2 separate regions of the Homo sapiens genome follow, and region 2 is linked to region 1. The links are contacts of gene promoters, found by promoter capture Hi-C in human tissues and cell types (Jung and others, 2019). All regions are on one chromosome and are shown on one strand. Each heading gives the region's core, a stretch centred on a gene start or on the middle of the fragment in contact. The rest is flanking DNA. Distances are from core to core; before and after follow the strand shown. Region 1 holds the start of TSR3 (TSR3 ribosome maturation factor). Region 2 overlaps MEIOB (meiosis specific with OB-fold).

Region 1 (3,456 bases), core at 797-3,296:
TGTCCTGCTCAAGGCCTTTGGCCACTCCCTTTCCTGGATCCCTTTCCCCAAATAGCCACAGCTTTACTCCCTTTTCTCCTTTAGCTTTTGGCTGAAATGTCACTTCTTAGACTTTTCCTCAGCACCCTATTTAAAGCAATCCCCACCAAGACAGGAGGATTGCTTGACGCTGGGAGTTTGGGGCCAGCCTGGGCAACATAGTGAGACTTCCATCTCTACAAGAACACTTAACATTTGCCGGGCATGGTGGCGTGCACCTGTAGTCCCAGCTACTCAGGAAGCTGAGGTTGGTGGATTGCTTCAGCCCAGGAGTTCAAGGATGCAGTGAGCTATGATTGCACTACTGCACTCCAGCCCGAGTGAGAGAGCAAGACCCCGTCTCTAAAAAATAAAAAAAGCGATCCCCCAAACAATACTCTAACACACATACACACACTCCCTCCTCTGCTTCACACATCTACATGGCATTTTTCATCATTGGCCATTCTATGTATTTTATCTAATTCTACAGGCTCAGTGCCTGTTCCTCCATCCCTCCCCATTAGACTGTCAGCTCCATGAGGACAAGCATTGGTATATCTGTGTTCGTTTCTGCAACCCCAGCACAGACCCTAACACATAAAGGTATTCGATAATAAAATTACTAAAGCTGGGCGCGGTGGCTCACGCCTATAATCCCAGCACTTTTGGAGGCCGAGATGGGCGGATCACTTGAGGTCAGGAGTTCGAGACCCGCCTGGTCAATACGGTGAAATAAACCCTATCTCTACTAAAAATACAAAAATTTGCTGGGCGTGATGGTGATGCATGCCTGTGATCCCAGCTACTCGGGAGGCTGAGGCATGAGGATCGCTTGAACCTGGGAGGCGGAGGTTGCAGTGAGCCGAGATCGTGCCACTGCACTCCAGCCTGGGCGACAGAGCGAGACTCTTGTCTCAAAAAAAAAAAAAAAAAAATTCTTGGATTTTTGTCTATTATATTTAATACTCATTCAGCGTTTAAATGATATATATACTCATGACCCACCAATTCCACTTCTGGAATCCTGCACTGGGAAACCGCTCACCTGAGGGCAAACCAAAGCACCTACACAGCATGTTCTCCACAGAACTATTTCTAATGGCCAAAAAAATGGCAAGAACCTAAATACAATCGGGGAGTGCAGTGCCATCCTATCGCGTGCTGAGCACCAAGAGAAAGAACGAAGACCTATATCATCACCATGAAGCGTCCCGAGAGATACAGCGAGTGACAACGACAAATCAGCCAAATACTCGCGCAGCATGATTTTTTAAAAAAGCGATTAGATTACAAAAACTATACGTTTTCCAGTTGCATAGACACGCACGTAAAAGCACAGAAACGCGTCTGCAAAGTCACCAGACTATTAACAGCAGTTACCTCTCGGAAAGGAAAGGAAGGACTAAGTCTGGAGATAATTTAATTCGCTACAAGAACGTTCTGGTATATTCTCTCGTACTTCCACATTAATTTTAGAAGGCTGACAAACCAATGCTTTAGACTCCGGGCCGTAACTCTCAGGGTCACTCATCCATCCTCCACTGTTGCTGCTCCCCGCGGCCACCCCCGCGCCGGCCAACAGCGCTCCTCACTCACCAGACACGGGTGAAGGATCCCTCTTGGCCTGGAGGCGACTGGCCTGAGGCAAGAACGGGTTGTTCACCCTACGGGAAGCGGCAAGGTCAGCGGGGAACGGGCCCGGGCCGTCCCCCGCTCGAGCCGCCAGCCCGCGAGGCTGCTCACCCAAACGCGTTGGGCTCCTCCACCACCTTCATCTTCGCTGCACCTGCCGGCGCGGGCCCTACGGGGAGCGAGACCGTGAGCGGGGAGGCCGGGGTGCAGAGCGCGCGCGGGGCCTGGGGACGCGGACGGCCGGGCCACTCACCGCCGGCCGAGAGCCCGAGGAGCAACAGGAGCCGCGCCAGCCCCGCCGCCATCGCGCCGCAGCGGCCGCCGCGCGGTCACGTGAAGTGACGGTCACGTGACCACGGGGACCGGAAGTGGCGTCCGGCGCAAGCGCTGGCAGCCGCACAGCCCATTGGGAGGCCGAGGGGCGCGGCCGTGGGGTGGGGAGTCCCCGGCACCCCAGGTCCGCGCCATGGGCCGCAGGAGGGCAGCGCGCGGGCCGGGGGCGGAAGGCGGCCGCCCTCGGCACCTCCCGACGCGCTCCCTGGAGGCCTTCGCCGAGGAGGTCGGCGCCGCGCTGCAGGGTGAGCGAGGCGTGATGGGGAGAGCGGGTCAGGGTTTGAGGGCCTGCCCGGGGGTCCCACGCTGAGGCCGAGTGCCCTTCTCTCTCTCGTGCAGCTTCCGTGGAGCCAGGGGCGGCTGACGGCGAGGGCGGCCCGGGCCCGGCGGCGCTGCCCTGCACGCTGGCCATGTGGGAGTTGGGCCACTGCGACCCCCGGCGCTGCACGGGCCGCAAGCTGGCCCGCCTGGGGCTGGTGCGCTGCCTGCGCCTGGGCCACAGATTCGGCGGTCTGGTGCTGAGCCCCGTGGGCAAGCAGTACGCGTCCCCCGCAGACAGGTAGGCGCGGGAGGCCTGCCCGAGGTCGTCTTCATTTCCAGCGCGTGGTTCCCTTCAGGGATGGTTTAGTGGCACTTGTATGTCGCACCCACATCCACACCCACGTGGGCAGGGAACGTCTGTCTAGTTTGCCTCCGTTGCGTAGCGCAGAGCCTGGGATAAAGGAGGTTTTGGGGTAATAAACGTTTGTTGAGTGAATAAACACATGCTCCAGGTGCCCCAAGCAGCTGCCTCAAAAGCTTGCTCGTGAAGTCCGTTTGAGGGTGTTTGGGGATGGCGGAATGATGTCCCTGAATCCCTTAGCTAGGCCATTCTCCGGGGCATGCTCCACCTTGGGTAGTGCTGGCTCCTGAACTTATCCCATGCTGTCCCTGGCAGACAGCTGGTGGCGCAGTCTGGGGTCGCCGTCATCGACTGCTCCTGGGCCAGGCTGGACGAGACACCGTTTGGGAAGATGCGAGGGAGCCACTTGCGCCTGTTGCCCTACCTGGTGGCCGCCAACCCCGTGAACTATGGCCGGCCCTACAGACTTTCCTGCGTGGAAGCGTTTGCTGCCACCTTCTGCATCGTAGGTGAGTCCAGGGGCCCCACAGCAGTGTGACCCGGCGGCCTGCTGTTCCTGCTATGCTCCCAGCATCATGTTTCCTGCCGACAGACCCCAGGAGGAGCATAAGGGACGGACAGGGGAACAGTTCAGACAGACCACGGTTCCAGCCCCAACTGTCACTTCAGGTTTTCGGCCTGTGGAGTTGCAGTAGAGGCAGAATGGGATCGCTGTTCTATCAGGGCCGGTGTGTGGGGTGCCATTCATTATCAGGGCACCACTGCCCAGAGAATCCTCCTTATCCTCCACGTCCTCCTTACTGAATTGCTGATCTAAAGAGGCCCTGATGAGGCGTGGGGCAGTCTTG
Region 2 (3,919 bases), core at 621-3,120, 480 kb before region 1:
ACTGCACTCCAGCCTGGGTGACAGAGTGAGACTGTGTCTCAAAAAAAAAAAAAAAGAAAAAGGAATTGGAAGAATAGATACATAGGCAGGCAATGCAAAATGCTGAATGGGTTTGCTTGTAGATGAACCTCTGGGCTCCTCTATAGGGCAGAAGCAGTGCATCTTCACTCAGACAGACTTCATGGGGATTCCATGAGCAGGGTCATTCGAATCACTGTCAGCTTTCTACAACCTAGTTCTAAAACAGCTCAGTCCGTGCAATGGGAGGTGTAGCCCCTGTAGAATCAGACAGCTCTGAACGTGTTCTAGCCAATGTCAGACTACCACAACATTCCATTGAAAGGGTACCCACTTATTGTTATTGCCCACTTAAAGTCTTTCCCAGTTTTCCCTGATGTTGGTACTTTTTTTTCTCTCAGTCTTGAAATTAAAGTGGTTGATATGTCCTTCCACTCTATATTAAATAAAATGTTGGTTAAAGTGCTGTATAAATTATAAAAAATAAGACTATTAAAATAAGACTATTATTAAATTATGTCATCATATTCCTGTAGTCTCACAGATTGAGTCCCTGCTACAGCTTAAAGTCTATCACAGTTGGTAGTTTGAACACACATTAAGCCCTTTTTCATATGTTATACTTTTTTTTTTTTTTGAGACACAGTCTCACTCTGCTCGCTCTGTCACACAGGCTGGAGCACGTGGTGCGATCACAGCTTACTGCAGCCTCAACCTTCCCAGGCTCAAGTGATCCTCCCGCCTCAGCCACCGAGTAGCTGGGACCACAGGTGTGCACCACCACACCTGGCTAATTTTTATATTTTTAGTAGAGACAGGGTTTCACTTTATTGGCCAGGCTGGTCTTGAACTTCAGGCCTCAAGTGATCTACCTGCCTTGGCCTCCCAAAGTGCTGGGATTACAGGCATGAGCCACCTCACCCAGCCCTGCATTAGACATTTTTTTTAGTGGGGGGGGGTGGGGGGGACAGAGTTTCGCTCTAGTTGCCCAAGCTGGAGTGCAATGGCACAATCTCTGCTCACTGCAACCTCTGCCTCCCGGGTTCAAGGGATTCTCCTGCCTCAGCCTTCTGAGTAGCTGGGATAACAGGTGTGTGCCACCATGCCCGGCTAATTTTTTGTATTTTTAGTAGAAATGGGAGTTTCACCATGTTAGCCAGGCTGGTCTCGAACTCCTGACCTCAGGTGATCCACCCGCCTTGGCCTCCCAAAGTGCTGGGATTACAGGCGTGAGCCACTGCACCAGCACCCGGCCACATTAGACTTTTAATCCCAACTTTCCTACCTGAGAGAAATAGCATGAAAAGTGACAAAATTTTTACAAAATCAGTCAGAAGCTGGGCCTGTAAATTAACTGTACTCCGAGACTGGAACTCTTCCCATCATCTTACAGCTCTAATGGAAGTTTATATTAGTATCTGTAAACAAAACTTTCATTGCAGTTCTCTATTCGTGATCATTGATTTTTCAACTTGATATACAAGGGGATTTTAAAAATTAACCTTTTGTCTCTTTTTCTGTTTCTCCTCGCAGTTCGTTCTATCACACAGAGCAAGGAGTGGATTGAAAATTAGTGTACTCTCGTGCAAGCTTGCAGATCCTACTGAGGCAAGCAGAAACTTGTCTGGACAAAAACATGTTTAAAACGGTCTATCATTTTGAACTCTGGAAAAGTATAAGAGTTTTAACTCCCTTTAAAATGGAATATTAATTTGAAAATTATGGGGAAAATTGCATTTTGTTTACATGTGGTGAACATGTTTCTAGAAATTGTTATGGTGGAGGTGGTCTGGGTGAGTCTGAAGGCCTCTCTCATCTGACCTCCCTTCTTAGAAGGCCTCCTACTGTCTTTGCCTTGTCTCCTCCCAAGTTGGAAAATGTTTACATGAATTAATAAACAGATTTAATCTTCTACAGATTTGAATGATTTATTTTCTTTTCCATGTAGTTGAACGGCTTTGAGTGAGTTTCTTAATCCTGAGTGAATGATTTATTTTCTTAAGCCAGTTTATTATTTGTCTTGGTTCCCTGGAAAAAGAGTAGGACCTCAAGGGCTGGGCACGGTGGCTCATGCCTGTAATCCCAGCACTTTGGGATGCCAAGGCAGTCAGGAGATCGAGACCATCCTGGCTAACACAGTGAAACCCCATCTCTACTAAAAATACAAAAAATTAGCTGGGTGTGGTGGCACGTGCCTGTTGTCCCAGCTACTCGGGAGGCTGAGGCAGGAGAATCTCTTGAACCTGGGATGAGGAGGTTGTAGTGAGCTGAGATCCAGCCACTGCACTCCAGCCTGGGCGACAGAGCGAGACTCTGTCTTAAAAAAAAAAAAAAAAAAAAAAAAAGTACCTCTAAAGACTACTTTCTGAGAGCTGGGTGGTGACTCGTCATCTGACAGATCTGACAGGATGAGGGCAAGGGGCTCTTGGTGCTGGGTGGGAATAGCCAAAGTCGTGGGCAATCCTGTGCGACTGCTTTGAGCACCTGGGGCTCTTCTAGTCCCTGGTCTTCTCTGGTGACACACTGGAGTGCCCAGTGCTTGTGGAGGCTTGCTGGCTCAGGGCTGACATGACTGAGTCTGAATCAACTGGGAGGAGACCAACTTCAAAAGGTTCATGAGCATGCCTGGGTCTCAGAACTCTGAGGGGGACCTACTCAGGACATGAGGACGACAGCTGCCACTTTATCTGTTTGCTTTGCAGCAGCCACAAAGTAAACGGCTCAACTGCACACCATTGAGAGTCACTTGCTTCAGGGCGCAGACTCCAGCTGTGAAGACCCACCGCTAAGGTCAGTGTTGACCCACGGCCTGGGAGGTTTGACCTGGTACTTTAGAAGGCTACATGCCCTCCACCACAGGATTGAAAAAAAAGGAAAAAGTGAGTATATGAAACTGTTTCCTAAGGCTGGTGTTGGGAGATAAACCATCGTCAGTCATGTTTTATCTGGCTTTTACCATGTGCAGCCACAGAGGAGGGATGCAGGTTCACCCCTAAGTGTCCAAATTGTGGTGATAAGGTAATGAACGACTTGACCTAGTTGTGCAGAACAGGCCTTCCATCCTCCCTTGGGGAGAACTGGGGGGTTTGTGAAGCCAGGTGAATGGGGAGGGTGGACAGGGAAGGAAGGAGAGGAGAGAAGTGAGGGTGTCGTGGTTGGTGCTGGCTTGGCTCCCACTGTTGGTTCAGCAAGAGTGGGTATGGTGCCCCCTCCACTGAGCCCCGTGTCCAGGAGCTCAGGAGAAGCCACCTTACTCGGTTAATTTTAAAACATTTTGTAGAGACAGTGATCTTGGCATTTTGCCCAGGCTGGTCTTGAATTCCTGGGCTCAAGTGATCCACCCACCTCGGCCTCCCAAAGTGCTGGGATTACAGGCGTGAGCCACCGTGCCCAGCTGACACTTATATTTTTAAGAAAAAGAGGAAAATAGGCCAGGCGCGGTGGCTCACGCCTGTAATCCCAGCACTTTGGGAGGCTGAGGTGGGTGGATCACGAGGTCCGGAGATGTAGACCATCCTGGCTAACACGGTGAAGCCCTGTCTCTACTAAAAATACAAAAAAATTAGCCGGGTGTGGTGGAGGGCGCCTGTAGTCCCAGCTACTCGGGAGGCTGAGGCAGGAGAATGGCGTGAACCCGGGAGGCGGAGCTTGCAGTGAGCCGAGATCATGCCACTGCAGCGTGGGCAACAGAGCAAGACTTTGTCTCAAAAAAAAAAAAAAAGAATGACCATAGCCATGATGCCCAGCCTTAGCTGGGGTGTCGGTGTAAAGGTATTCTTAAACAGTCTTGTCAAGTGCAACATGGTAGTTTTTTTTCCTCTGCAATTTGGCAAAAAGTGTCAAAATTTCAAAGTGCAAACCATTTCATTGATTTCACTTCTAAGACTTCCCTAAGGAAACA

The links. The method cuts DNA at HindIII sites, captures the fragments that hold promoters and counts their contacts. A contact is called where the count stands out against the background at its distance.
Region 2: a fragment that was not itself captured here is called in contact with the fragment with the promoter of TSR3 in region 1 in 1 of the 25 tissues and cell types used here (dorsolateral prefrontal cortex).

The regions. Positions count from the first base shown.
Region 1 is chr16:1,350,468-1,353,923 of GRCh38, reverse strand. It overlaps TSR3 (TSR3 ribosome maturation factor), which reads left to right and starts at 2,046. Exons shown (of 6, transcript NM_001001410.3): 1 at 2,046-2,231; 2 at 2,326-2,545; 3 at 2,924-3,117. The coding sequence starts at 2,120. GNPTG (N-acetylglucosamine-1-phosphate transferase subunit gamma) reads right to left here and starts at 1,993. Exons shown (of 11, transcript NM_032520.5): 1 at 1,907-1,993; 2 at 1,765-1,822; 3 at 1,618-1,685. The coding sequence starts at 1,958. RefSeq lists a silencer at 1,769-2,468. The HindIII fragment of the contact is 21,021 bases long and covers 1-3,456 here.
Region 2 is chr16:1,831,999-1,835,917 of GRCh38, reverse strand. MEIOB (meiosis specific with OB-fold) reads left to right here. Exons shown (of 14, transcript NM_001163560.3): 14 at 1,552-1,932. The coding sequence ends at 1,662. It also overlaps a transcript of FAHD1 not described here. Among named protein-coding and RNA genes, the nearest start is that of FAHD1, 6.8 kb to the right of the region's middle. RefSeq lists a silencer at 2,776-3,070. The HindIII fragment of the contact is 8,140 bases long and covers 1-3,919 here.